Regions from separate parts of the Homo sapiens genome. Here regions 1, 2 and 3 are each linked to region 4. The links are contacts of gene promoters, found by promoter capture Hi-C in blood cells and fetal thymus (Javierre and others, 2016). All regions are on one chromosome and are shown on one strand. The core of a region is centred on a gene start or on the middle of the fragment in contact, and the rest is flanking DNA. Distances in the headings are between cores, read along the strand shown.

The links. The method cuts DNA at HindIII sites, captures the fragments that hold promoters and counts their contacts. A CHiCAGO score of 5 or more calls a contact.
Region 1: a contact is called between a fragment that was not itself captured here and the fragment with the promoter of ACAT1 in region 4, in 4 of 17 cell types (naive CD8 T cells, naive B cells, total CD4 T cells and 1 more). The highest score is 5.9, in naive CD8 T cells.
Region 2: a contact is called between a fragment that was not itself captured here and the fragment with the promoter of ACAT1 in region 4, in 3 of 17 cell types (total B cells, total CD8 T cells and activated CD4 T cells). The highest score is 7.8, in total B cells.
Region 3: a contact is called between a fragment that was not itself captured here and the fragment with the promoter of ACAT1 in region 4, in 13 of 17 cell types (naive CD4 T cells, naive CD8 T cells, megakaryocytes and 10 more). The highest score is 10.3, in naive CD4 T cells.

The regions. Positions count from the first base shown.
Region 1 is chr11:108,700,417-108,704,016 of GRCh38, forward strand. All of the region lies in intron 9 of DDX10 (DEAD-box helicase 10), which reads left to right. The region is part of intron 2 of LOC124902750 (a long non-coding RNA gene); the gene reads right to left. Among named protein-coding and RNA genes, the nearest start is that of DDX10, 37 kb to the left of the region's middle. The HindIII fragment of the contact is 1,749 bases long and covers 553-2,301 here.
Region 2 is chr11:108,732,151-108,735,386 of GRCh38, forward strand. The region is part of intron 13 of DDX10 (DEAD-box helicase 10); the gene reads left to right. The region is part of intron 2 of LOC124902750 (a long non-coding RNA gene); the gene reads right to left. Among named protein-coding and RNA genes, the nearest start is that of DDX10, 69 kb to the left of the region's middle. RefSeq lists an enhancer at 1,622-1,741. The HindIII fragment of the contact is 631 bases long and covers 1,617-2,247 here.
Region 3 is chr11:108,632,318-108,635,731 of GRCh38, forward strand. No RefSeq gene overlaps it. Among named protein-coding and RNA genes, the nearest start is that of DDX10, 31 kb to the right of the region's middle. The HindIII fragment of the contact is 2,184 bases long and covers 293-2,476 here.
Region 4 is chr11:108,120,317-108,123,559 of GRCh38, forward strand. It overlaps ACAT1 (acetyl-CoA acetyltransferase 1), which reads left to right and starts at 1,251. Exons shown (of 12, transcript NM_000019.4): 1 at 1,251-1,362. The coding sequence starts at 1,291. RefSeq lists silencers at 913-1,451, 1,053-1,462. The HindIII fragment of the contact is 9,706 bases long and covers 1-1,422 here.

The DNA of each region.
Region 1 (3,600 bases), core at 177-2,676, 580 kb after region 4:
ATTCTTGCCAGTGTGCCCTGATCCAGCTGTTTACATCTAATGGATTACATCTAATAGCGCAGACCTGCAGCTCCCATGCAGGGCTTCTAGAATGCATGAGAGCCAGTTACTGGGAGAAGAAAGGTAGATGTCTTCAAATTTGTTGACATTTGTGGTCATGAAGACGAACTAGTATATGCATTTTCTTTCTTTGGACTAGGAGAGATAGACATCCTGTAGTTGTTCCATCACTGCTTTTAGAAAGTCAGGAATCTTAGGTTTGAATTGGACTTTGTCACTAATGACCGTGTACCCTTGGACAAGTCTTTAACTTCTCTAAGCCTCAGTTTCTTCTCTGGTAAAATGGGGTTAATTGTATCTAACTCTTATTTCCTGGAAGTATAATTTTAGGTAGCAGTACCACTTTGATTTGCGGTTTCTTTTTATTCTTAATGTGTTACAATTTACCTTTTTTTTTTTTAATTCTTTTCAGGGGACAAAGTTGATAGAATTTAATGATTTCTACCCTTTCTCTGTGAACCCCATAAATCCTTGTTCTTAGTCAGTGCTAGAAGCTTTCCATGCAATACGTATTAGCCAGCTTGGTTTCTCTCTAATTACTTACAGTGAACTTCATTTGTCACTGTTGGGCCTGACATGGTATACCTGTTTGTTATTTGAGATCTTAAGGTGCAGATGACTTTCTTTTCCCCAGAATATTTCCAAACCTGTTCTTTTTTCCTTTTTTAAATCTAGTATAGAATCGTCAGACATTCCATAAGTCAGAGATACCCTTTTTCTTGGAATAAGCTCTCCTTTGTACCATGTTGTGCAGGAGGAACAGAACAGTTGGACTCAGATCCCTTATGGCTGTCTTTCTGCACCTGCATAACAGACTGCACTGTTCTCCCCCAGTGACATGAAATCTTGGGGATGGTTGTCATAGGTAAGGCTGAGGTATAGGGAGAATAGAAGGAGATACAGGGCGGGAAAAAGAGAGGACTGTGCGATAGTAGAGCGTAACCAACAAATGTCTCCCTTTCTCCACTTCTTGATTATTGTATTGTGAGCAGTGACTAGCATATCAGTAGTCAGAGTTGTAGAGTTTTAGATCCTAAAGGGACATAAATCAGTCAATTGTATAATGTAGAAATAAGAAAATGTAGTAAATAGTGATTTATTTTATCTAAAGTTATACAGCTAATAGCTAATAGTACAACAGGACTAGAACCCAGTTCTTTTGACTCTAAATCTGGTGTTTTTTCTTTCTTCTTCTTCTCTTTTTTTTTTTTTTTTTTTTTTTTTGTGACTGAGTGTCTGTGACTCTGTCGCCCAGAGTGGAGTGCAGTGGCGCGATCTTGGCTCACTGCAACCTCTGCCTCCCGGGTTCAAGTGATTCTCTTGTCTCAGCCTCCTGAGTAGTTGGAACTACAGGGTGCGCCACCATACCTGGCTAATTTTTGTACTTTTAGCAGAGACGGGGTTTTGCCATGTTGGCCAGACTGGTCTCAAACTCCTGACCTCAGGTGATCCACCCGCCTGGATCCCAAAGTGCTGGGGTTACAGGCGTGAACCACTGCGCCTGGCCAAGTTTGGAGTTTTATCTGCTGAAACAGCTTCTAGTGTTCACTCACCAAATATTTGTTGTGCATGTTTTAGGGACACATGACACATGACACATGCCCTCAAATTTAATAAGATAAGGACATATACTGATATTGGTAGTATTAGGATGTATGTTAAATAAGGTAAGAGTGAAACAAAAGATATAGGTCTTAAAAACATAGTTTTTTTAAAAAACTTATTTTTAATAACTTGTAGTACAAAAATAATGCTTACTAACTGTACAGATTCTAGACAATAATGACAAAACAATTAAAATCACCTAAAATCCACCACTTAGAAATGTTTTTTTCGTGTATGTCTGCATATATTTTTTCTAGTTACAAAAATGGGATTGTTCTAAATAAACTTTTTGTAACCTAACTTGTAACATGGAGAACCAGGCTAAGAGAACTGAGGGTGGCTAGGCAGTTGTGAATAGCGTATCACAGACCATGGTAGGACAATAGTGGGAAGGATGAATGAGCAAAGTTTAAGGGACAATTAAAGACCCAACTAGAATGGAGTTGATGGGTTGGAGAATCTGAATTTGAGTGGTAGAAGGCAAATTATTGCTAGAATGGCAGGGCTTTTTTCCTGCCTCTGGCTCTAGTTTGTTTGAAGGTTATTTCAGTGGAAGAATTAACTGGTACACCCAAGCCAATGGACTGGATTCCTATTTTAACTAGAAATACTAGTGAGCTGCAGGATGTGGAGATAAGCTTTCTGATATCAGCTAGACAATCATGACCAATCTGTTGAGTATTCTTGTTTCTGGAGGGAATTCTGGTATAACTGAAAAAGTGGTGGATTTAGAGGTTTAAAGTCTCTGATATTAGTAACCAGCTGATTTTAGGCCAACCTCTTGGGCTCTCAGAAATACTATTTTGTATTGCTACTTCCTACTGGTTGCTTGCTTTTAAGATCTGCAAGTTTATATATTAATACAAAAAATGTTTTTCATAAATTTGGAAGAGCTGCATAAATTAAATATAGTATTGATATTGATGGCAAAAATGAAATTTTGTTTCAGATGCTTGTTATCGGGCGGCTAGACTCTGTTAAAATAGTTCATCATGGTGACTAGTTAATAATACTGTATTGTATTCTTGAAAAATGCTGAGAGTGGATGTTAAATGTTCTCACCACAAAAATGATAACTCTGTGAGGTAATGCATATTTTAATTAGCTAGACTTAACTATTCCACAATGTGTGTATACTAAGACACAATGTGTATACTCTAAGATATCATGTTGTACATGATAAATATAATTTATCGATTTGAAATAAATATGTTTTGAAAACAAATCTGTCTAAATATAGAATTTTAAAGTGTAGATCTTTTTTTTTGAGGTGGAGTCTCACTCTGTCTCCAGGCTGGAGTGCAGTGGCGCGATCTCTGCTCACTGCAACCTCTGCCTCCCAGGTGCAAACAATTCTCCTGCCTTGGCCTCTCGAGTAGCTGGGACTACAGCCGTGTGCCACCACTCCCAGCTAAGTTTTGTATTTTTAGTAGAGACAGGGTTTCACCATGTTGGCCAGGATGGTCTCGATCTCTTGACCTCATGATCCACCTGCCTCGGCCTCCCAAAGTGCTGGGATTACAGGCCTGAGCCACCGCGCTTGGCCTAAAGTGTAGATCTTTTGAAGAACACTTATTTCTTATATGTTTAGCCTTGGGCCTTGAATATTGCTTTTGAAATCTAAAAGCTTGCTCATGGGTAAATAGACTTTGTTCTTGCAAGCATTTTTTAAAAAAGTGAAATGTTCTTATGCCTTCTTTTAAAAAGTGCTTTTATTCTAGAATAAAAGCTTACTGGGGAACTTTTGGTATTAGCGTGTGGGAGATAACTTGTGGTTTATGTTTTAGGGAAAAGATGTGTGTAATGTAAAATAGGTAAAATGGCCAGTAATCTTTTTAATGGGTGCTTGCCTTATGGATTTGACTTTGGGCATTTTCCATTTTCCATTGGGAGTCTTTTTCTTCTAAAATTCCACTGTTACTATTTGTCTTAACC
Region 2 (3,236 bases), core at 682-3,181, 610 kb after region 4:
TCATATCATTATAATTAAGACCATAATTATTTGGCATTTTACCATATACTGAACACTTTCTGCATAAGTTCTCATTTTTCCTTATGACAAGAAAGGTAGCTATTAAAATTTCGGAGGAGGAAAGGAAGGCTTTTAAGTGACTTGTCCAAGGTCACAGTGGTGAAGTTAGCAGTTAAACCTATTTGTGATGCTAAGTCACATTTTCTTTCTCTGCTGTCGTGCCTACCATTATTTGTGTGTAGTTTGCTTTCTGTAATTGGGTAATGTCAGTGTAATTGACAGTATTGTAAATAATTTTGGGCTACTCATTGTGTGCGCACACTTGGAGTATAAAATGAATGTTTGCCTTTAGACTTCGGCGTAAATGGAGACGAGAGGTACTGAGTGCCAGGTGCAAGCAAGGCCTTCTGGAATGCTGCCTTGTCACAATCCTTTTCTGTTTGACGAGATCGATGCAGTGAAGGACAACAAGATTTTCTTAGCAGTGGAGAAGTGCCACGAGTGATGAAGCAATAAGACATGTGCAGGAGAGAGCGCAGGTGTAGTGATCAGGCACAAAGGCAGTAAGAGATGGCTGGTTGACCTCCCACCATAGGGAAGAACCTTGTTTTGGCTAATTGTCTTGTTGGGTGTTCAGAAAGTTGACCTCCAGGGAGACAGTGTTAGATAAGAGCATGAACATACAATTAAAATGATTAAATTAAAATTTATTTTTGGAACACTTATTTCCTTAAATGTGAGAATGAAATCTCTAAGCATATGCTTTCTTTTCTTTTTCAGTTTAAACCTTTTTAGAAATGAGACTGGGTAGATTCCATTTTAGCTCAACAAATGTCCTTTTAAAGCTTTCTTAAAAGTAAACATAGGTCAGTTTTAATTAAGATTTGAATGATACCCATAGATTATTCATTGTACCTTAGAGTTGATTCCAGATCCTGTTTACATTGATTTAGTCCTACTTTTTTTTTTTTTTTTAGTAGCTTTTTCTTTTTTTAGTACTGTAAGAACTCACTGTTGGTGTTAAAACACAGATTAGCTAACTTTGAAGCTTATAAGTATACTCTTATAAAAAGATTCCAAGTTCCAAATCAAGATTCTCCTATGTGGGAGCTAGGATGTTTCTGCCTCTTGTCTCTTCACTTTTTCTCTTTCTCTCTTTTTCCCTCCTTTCAGCAGCAGTTACCTAACGGATGCCAGGGACTGTGTTAGGTACTTAGTGACTTTTAGGAACTTGGACTAAGTATTTGTAAAATAAGTACTGGAAAATGATTAACATCTATCAATTTTTTTATAACTTACCATGCACTTTGACTATCATATCTCACTTATTTAAATTCTTACCACAGCCTTGTGTAGTGTTGTTGTCATGTTACAAGTTCAGACACAGGCTTTGACAGGTTCACTTACTTCCTTGCCTAATGTTGCATAGTTAGTGAAGCGCTAGCACTGGAGTCTGTACTTAGGCCCCTCTGACTTGCCTCGGTATGATTGTGCTTGCTTTGATTCCCGTCATTTCTACATTTAGTGGTGGCTTTTAGTGTTCCATTTTCACTTCCCACTTACACTGCCATTCTGCCCCCAGATTCTTATTACCTCATTCTTGGCTCGGGGGGATAAGCTTCATAATTGGTTCTCGTTGTTCTTCTGAGTCATCTTCCTGTGAACCTTGGTCAAATTAGTATTTTTTTTCAAGTGGTTTACCTTCCATGCTACCCTTAAGTTCACCCTTGCAGTTGGGTTTTGTAAGCTAGCCCCTATCCTATTGTCCTGCGAGACCATTCTTCCCAGTTTCCACTTAAACAGTGAAGGATTCCTTCCTGGATTATTTTCTTCCCACTCCAGCATTTCACATCTTTCAAGATGCAGTGCTTATCTTGTCTCTTCTTTGAAGCCATCCCTTACTTCTTCAACCCACTGACCTCTGGATTCCAATGGTCTATTTTGCTAGTATTTTTTTCTTTTTCTTGACATTTCATAATGTAGCCACATGTCTCTTAATTTTTATCTCTTCCATACCTGGTGATTTGTGTTCAGGGGCCTTATGTAATGTTCAGTTGACTTAAACAGAAGGAAGAACTCTAAAGTCAAGACTACTGTACTCCGAATTTTTGCTACCATGAAGTGAAACAATGGTAGCATGATCTCAGATGTTGCCAGCTGAAATAGTTTGGTATATATGCTCATTTGTCTTATAGGTGTCTTTTCTGTTTTTTGGCATCCTGTGCTTAATTCTTTTTTTGTAATCTAAGCTTTGTTCCAATTCAAAAGGAGTTGTTATTGTGTAACATGAAGCTTAGATGCATATATTGAGTTGCTTTATGTATTTTTTTTCCTATTTGAGTTTGGTATGCAGATGACTTCCTGAGGATGTAAATTTTCAGTGGAAAGCTTAAAGCTGGTTTTGGCATGATGTTTATTCTGTAACATGCTGAATCATTATATCAAATATTGAGTCGTTTTCCTTTATCTCCTTCTTTTATACAATATTCAATATTTATAACATCTGCTAACTACTGAATTTTTAAATCTACTTTTGTGGTTGAAGTTTAAACAGCTACTTTTACAGGCCGTATTTATCTTTATTTTAAGGTAGTTACACAGGTAATGAAAGAAATGTGAAATAGGACAGGCTGTTCTTGAAGGTCATGTGAATTGCCCTTTGAACTTGTTATATGATTAGAAATAAGGAGTTTTCAAATTCATAAACAAGTGCTTGTTTATATGGCTCTAACAAATATAATTGTACAACACTGCTAATATGGCAGATTAGTTTCCAGAAATGCTGTTCATAAGACCACTTTTTAAGTCTCTAAGCAGTGTGTGTATCTGTACCTGAACTTGTTAATGGGAGGACTGTCTTTGTGATGGCACTGGATTCAACTTTCACATTTCTTTTCAACACTTTTAAATTGTCCAAGCAAATTTTTGTTTTGACTTTGTTCTTTTCAATGCATATTTTGAAACACGGTTTCAAGTCCAAGGCAACATCTGAGGCTAGTGCCATCTGTTGGTGACAGTTAGAATTAAATCACTTTTGCTTTGATGCGAAGCTTTGTTCTTTACCATGAAAGTGTACATTTTAGGTGAAATGCCGGCTTATTAAGTGAAGACTTCATGAAGTTTTTAGAAAAATTTATTCAGCAAATATTTGAACACCTGCTGTGTGCTAGGCATTGAGAGCTGTTAGCAAAACCAACAGTATTCCCTGTGCATTAATGGGTGGGATGGACAAAAAA
Region 3 (3,414 bases), core at 135-2,634, 510 kb after region 4:
GAGGTAGGTGACTGTGGGCAAGGAGTTTGGTTCTTATTGAAACAATGTCAAAAACATCTGGTTCTTCTGGTAACAGCTGTGGGGTATTTTCTGGCATGTGGTCTTTGTATCATGAGTGTCAAAATGCCAGGCATTGGTGGCAGTATTTTTCCATTAGAATAGTTCTGTGTTATGGTTGGCCATTTTCCTTTGCTACTTTTGTCCCCATCTGTATGGTTACTGGCTGTTTAGCATTCAAACTCAGCATGCTGGCCCTTTCAGAAATCTTCAGAGTTACCCCCAGGCAGCTGGAAGCTTTTTAGCTGGTTTTTTTTTTTTTTTTTTTTTTTGGTTTTTGGGTTTTTGTTTTGTTTTGTTTTGTTTTTTCTAGCTTAGTTTCTTGGCGTATTGCAAGGTAGTCACTGGTATCCTTAAGGGATGCTCCTGCTGAGTGTCAAGATCACTTCTTCACACTTCTTCCTTTTCTCTGAGATGTTGGTCCCTTAAAGTCCTGACTGCTTTGGCAAGCCTGAACTCCAGTTTTTATCTCTTCAGCCTTATGAAATTGCTGAAGCTCTGCTAGTTTCTCTGTCTCTTAGTAGCAGCCTTCCGCCCAGCTTCTCAGCCTCTCTCCTGAAAAGCTGAAATCAGCAGATGCCCCAAGGGAAATAATGGCACCTATAATAATGAGCTCACATCAATGAGCTGCTCTTTTCGCTTTTATCTTAGCCCCTCAAATAGATCTCACTATTTTGGAGGCTGTCCTATATTTATATCTATCTATATTCATCCTCCCTCTCCCAACTTTCCTGGTTGTTTTCAAGTTGAAGTGGTTGATATGTTCAGGCTACTTCATTATAGCAAGAAGTAGAATTCCTCCACCACCTTCTTTCTTGTTACCATGGTTTTGAACATGCTGTTTCCTTAGTCTTTTCTTCTTTTTGTTACTTATTTTGGAGGATAACTCCTACTTTAAGATTCAGCTCTATCATGACCTACTCTGATAATCAACCTCCAAGTCTAATTTAGATTTGCCTCCTCTATGTTCCCTTGTGCTTATTCCTTAATACATAGTTTTAAAATTATTTAATGCAGTTTTCAACCTATAGACCAAACTCCTTGTGGACAGAGATTTTGTTTTGTAGTTTTATATTCCCAGTGTGTAGGACAAATCTGGCATATAGTAGTTGCTCAATAAATACAAAGTTAAAATTGAAATTCAGCAGTGGCTCAAGCCTGCAATCCCAGCACTTTGGGAGGCCAAGGCTTGCGGATCACGAGGTCAGGAGATCGAGACCATCCTGGCTAACATGGTGAAACCCCGTCTCTACTAAAAATACAAAAAAAAATTAGCCAGGCGGGGTGGCGGGCGCCTGTAGTCCCAGCTACTTGGGAGGCTGAGGCAGGAGAATCACGTGAACCCAGGAGGCGGAGCTTGCAGTAAGCCGAGATCGCGTCACTGCACCCCAACCTGGGTGACAGCGCGAGACTCCGCCTCAAAAAAAAAAAAAAATTGAAATTCAGGCCAGGTGTGGTGGCCCAGCCTGTAATCCCAGCACTTTGGGAGGCTGAGGAGGGTGGATTGCTTGAGCTCAGGAGTTTAAGACCAGCCTGGGCAACATGGCAAAACCCCATCTCCACAAAAAACACAAAAATTAGCCAGGTGTGGTGGAATGCACCTGTAGTCCCAGCTACTCAGGGACTGGGCTACTCCAGAGGCTGAGGTGGGAGGATTGCTTGAGCCCGGGAGGCCAAGGCTGCAGTGAGCTACGATCATGCCACTGCACTCCAGCCTGGGTGACAGAGTGAGAACCTGTTTCAAAAAAAAAAAAAAGTGAAATTCAAAATGCAATAATTTTCTATATGGCTGTCGGACTTGGGAAGGATTTAATGAGAGTAAATAATCAAGAAGTATGCTTTATGCTTCTAGTTCCAAGAATAGACCCAATTGTATGCATGATAAAGAGGACAAATCTTTTTCTTATGGGTTGAATGGTCCTTTCCATTAAAAACTAGGAAGTCCACTCTCCCAGAGCCACACCTTCCAGAGCCACCAGATCTTTGGATAGGCTGTTGTCCCTGTACTAATAGCTCTCTCTTCTCCTGTTATAGTTTTCTGCCAATGTGTTCCAGCCCCCAGGAAAGCCTCACGGGATTGCCTGGAGAGGGTGATGCCATGTGGCTAATCCATATTTTAGGAATCTTGGCTTACATCCACATATTTTATCATTAATTGTTAGTCATTTAACTAGGTTATTGATACTTCAACTTTCTTCACAACACAGCTCACAAAAATGGATACTATTGTAAGTCTCCCTCCAAACTTACATCCCAGCCAATCAAAGTGCTGACATTTTCCTGTTGACTTGATCTTATTGGTGAGTTGACCCAGGCTTTACTTTAGCTATTCTCCTGTCTGGTATTGCTTTCTGTTCTGTCTTTCTTTCACCCATTAGACCTGTTTTAGAGCCTCTCATTTCTATTGTTTTGTCCAAGAAGCTTGTTCCATCTTTTTTGCAGATATTTTAACAAGCTTCCTTTTTCCTAGCCTTACTCATAACACGCTATCAAAGTTAAGCTTCAGTAATTCAAATCCAGTATAGAAATTGCACATAGAAGAAACAATATACTTCAAAAACCACCATTGCTCATTATCTGTGTGTGTGTTTTTTTTAATGCTCATATGTCCATGGGAACTTGGTTCATGCCTATTCTGAACTACGTAAGTTGTCAAGTTCTAGCGCATCATGGACTTTTTATTATAAGTGATTTCTCCTGTACTCCTTTCTTCCATCTCCAGTCAGAAATGATTAGCAGCTCTAATTCTGTTTCTACATTTTCCTGCCAGAAGAAGGCATGTGAATGGAATGCTGACAAGCAGCATTTCAAGATCCACTGATATTTCTTGAAGAAACCAGTCAATAGTTTGTTTCTTGGATACCTCTCCTAAATTAAACCATCTCATAGTTCTCAAGCACATTCTATTGGTGTTGCTCAGAGTTTTGCCAAACATAGGGATGAGTGTGCTTAATTCAACTTGCCTTGATGGATAGACTGGTTTCCACTCCCTCCTACTTCCTTGTCCACCTGGAGAACAGAGTTGGAAATGAGGATTCTTGACCACAGTGGCCCTGGGAGATCTAACCACTGGTATCTCATTTTTTTTCAACTGATCTTTTATGAAAAGGCCATATTCACCTACCAGAATTTAGTTGCCAGTCAGGATAGCCAGTGTAAATAAATCGCGTTGTTTGTGTCTCAGAAACAGAAACGTGTATTGCTGCATTTGGTTCATTACATTCACTTACTCTGGTCAGGGATAAATGTTAACAAGAATGCAAATGGCAACAAAGGTTTATGGCATTCAATTAAGGTGTATATATATTATACTGTACGTAGTACATGAGAGTTTTTATTGTTCTAAATAAATACCTG
Region 4 (3,243 bases), core at 1-2,500:
CAAGACCCCTTCTCTATATAAAATAAAAATTAAAAAAATTAGCATGGTGGAGCATGCCTGTAGTCCTAGCTACGTAGCTACTTGGGAAGCAGAGACAGGAGGATCCCCTAGCTACTTGGGAGGCAGAGACAGGAGGATCCCCTGAGACCAGGAGTTTGAGGCTGCAGTGAGATATGATTGCACCACTGTACTCCAGACTGGGTGACAAGAGCGAGACCCTATCTTAAAAAAAAAAAATACTCCAAAACATAATGGCCTAAAATAACAACCATTTGTTTTCTCTCGTTTCTGTGGACCATGAATTCAGACAGCATGGTGGGTATGGCTTGTCTCTGCTCCATGATGTCTGGGGTCTCAGCTGGAGTGGTTGAAGGTTGGGGACTGGAATCACCTGAGGCCTTTTTACCCATATTTGTATCTGGACTGAGCCTGGAATTTGATTGCTTCAAAATATTTTCACGGCTGGGTGTGATGGCTCACGCCTGTAATCCCAGCACTTTGAGAGGCTGAGTCTGGCCGTCTGCTTGAGCCCAGGAGTCAGCAACCAGCCTAGGCAACATAGGGAGACCTAGTCTCTACAAAAAAAAAAAAATACAACAATTTGCTGGGCGTGGTCGCCTGCGCCTGTAATCCCAGCACTTTGGGAGGCCGAGGAGGGAGGCTCACTTGAGTCCAGGAGTTCAAGACCAGTCTGGCCAACATGGTGAAACCCCGTCTCCACAAAAAATACAAAAATTATCTGGTTGTGGAGGCTTTCGCCTGTAGTCTCAGCTACTGGGATGGCTGGGGAGGGAGGATCGCTTGAGCCCTGATGGTCGAGATTACAGTGAGCTGTGGTCACGTCACTGCACTCCAGCTTGGGTGACAGAGTGAGACCTTGTCTCAAAAAAAAAAAAAAAAATCCTAAAATATTTTCATGAGTTTGTGCTGGGTAGGCCTAAGGGAAACATGCTCAGTAAATCGAAAAATCTCGGATTACACATAAACCACCGGCCCCGGCAGGTTAGACTTGGTGGACACGGGAGCCAGCAGCGTGTCAGGTGCTCGTTGACCCCAGCGCCAGTGTCTCCATCCACGTCCTTCACTCGTCAACCTTTCCTGGCCCAGGCTGCGGTGTCCCAGCGCCAGGCTCCGCCCCGCCCTTGGCTGCCGGCCAATCGCCGCCGACTGAGAGGCGACTATTGGAGGAAGCGGGATGGGCGGTGCCCGCGCCGGGCCGCTAGGGGTGCGGGGTTGGGGAGGAGGCCGCTAGTCTACGCCTGTGGAGCCGATACTCAGCCCTCTGCGACCATGGCTGTGCTGGCGGCACTTCTGCGCAGCGGCGCCCGCAGCCGCAGCCCCCTGCTCCGGAGGCTGGTGCAGGTGAGCGGGGTTCGTCCCCACAGCACTCAGACCCGGGATGCGAGGAGTCCCCGCCTCGGAAGCTTCCAGCCCGCGGCCGTTGCGGCTCCCGCGGCCCGGGCGCGCGGCTTAGGCCCCAGGACAGTCACGCGACGGGTTCTGGTCCAAAAACCGCCTAAGTGCTCCGATAACACCCAGGGACTCGCCTATTTTTACAGCGCGTTTCTACTTCCAAGGTCTCGGCGTAATCATCTTAATGAGCGTTACTGGTGTGTCAAACAAGGGCACGTGTCTGGGCGGGCAGGACCGCCAGGATTGGCGCTGGCCCGGCCTGAGCGGTGGGATCGGGGAGAGTCTCTTTGCAGGCCTGTGCAGCTGCTCCCGAGATTTTCTTTAAAACATATTTGTGTGCGTTATTGTCAGGAGAGGTTCCTTTTCTTTTTTAATACAATAGATAATCATTGGGCATACAAGGGGAGAGGGCACCATGTGATCATAACAGATGTTTTTTGGAGCAGCCTGAAATTTATCAGGGAAAACAAATGACTACTCAGATAATACAATAAATTATACTTGACATATGAGCAAAGCTCACATACTGAGGGCGTTCCAAGGGCTGTCGCTCTTCTGACCGTTGTGTTTAGGGAACACAGCAGGGGCAGAGTCTCAAAGAATTTATTCTCCACATGCGTAAGCAAGGGAGTACGCACCACAGATTGTCAGGCAAAGCCTCAGGAATAGGTAGAGACCTTCAGGGTGTGGTTGGTGAAGCTTGAGTTTTCTAGGTCGATGGGGGCAATAAGCTTGGAGATCCAGTTATGTTGTGAGTATGGACTTGACCCTAGTTAAGTAGGGATTGTTGATATGTTTGTTTTTGTTGCAATGGTAGGTCACTCTAGTTCTTACGTCTGGGCGTAGAATAACATTACTTGCACAAGGGTGCTGGCGGTAGGAGCTTTGCAAGAGATTGTAAAAGAACCAGTCTAGGACTTGACAATTAGGGAGTGAGGGTGCGAAGCCAAGGGAAAAGAAAGAGTCTAAAATTGATCCTGGGTGACTGAGATAATAGAAAAGTCACAAGGCGTAGGTTTCCAGGGAAGATGAGTTTTTAGCCTATTTGTTAGTCTCATGGGATGAGTGAAGAAATCACAAGAAAGTAATTAGGTTATCTTGGGTTTCAGTCAGTATTGACTAGGTGACATAGGTGAACTAGGTACTCTAGAGATGTAAAAAAAAAAAGTTCAGAACCTTCTTAATTTATGGTTTAATTAAGATCTTACAATCAGGTTGGTTGAGGTGGCTTATGCCAGTAATCCCAGCACTTTGGGAGGCCGGGGTGGGTAGATCATTTGAGGTCAAGAGTTCAAGACCAGCCTGGCCAACGTGGTGAAGCCCCACCTCTATTAAAAATACACACACACACAAAAATTAGCTGGGTGTGGTGGCAGGCGCCTGTAATCCCAGCTACTTGGGAGGCTGAGGCAGGAGAATCGCTTGAACCCGGGAGGAGGGGAAGGTTGCAGTGAGCTGAGATCATGCCACTGCACTCCAGCCTGGGCAACAGAGTGAGACTCCGTCTTAAAAAAAAAGATCTTAAAATGAAACACAAATACTCCTCATGAAAAAAATAAGCCTGTACATGCTGTAATGTATGATATGTGACATTCATATTACTGAACTCTAGGAAGCAGTTGTATTGGACACTTGAATTAAATGGTCATTTACTGAACTATAAACAGGATTTCCAGTTTTCTGTGCTATTTTGTAGAATGGAATTTGACCTCTCATTACATTGGCTCTTTTCCCTTTGCTTACCAGGTCTCTTTTATGGTCAACAAATCTTTATGGACTTTATTGGAGCACATTGCCTTTCTAGCTCTAATCACTTTTCTCTCTCTGGTC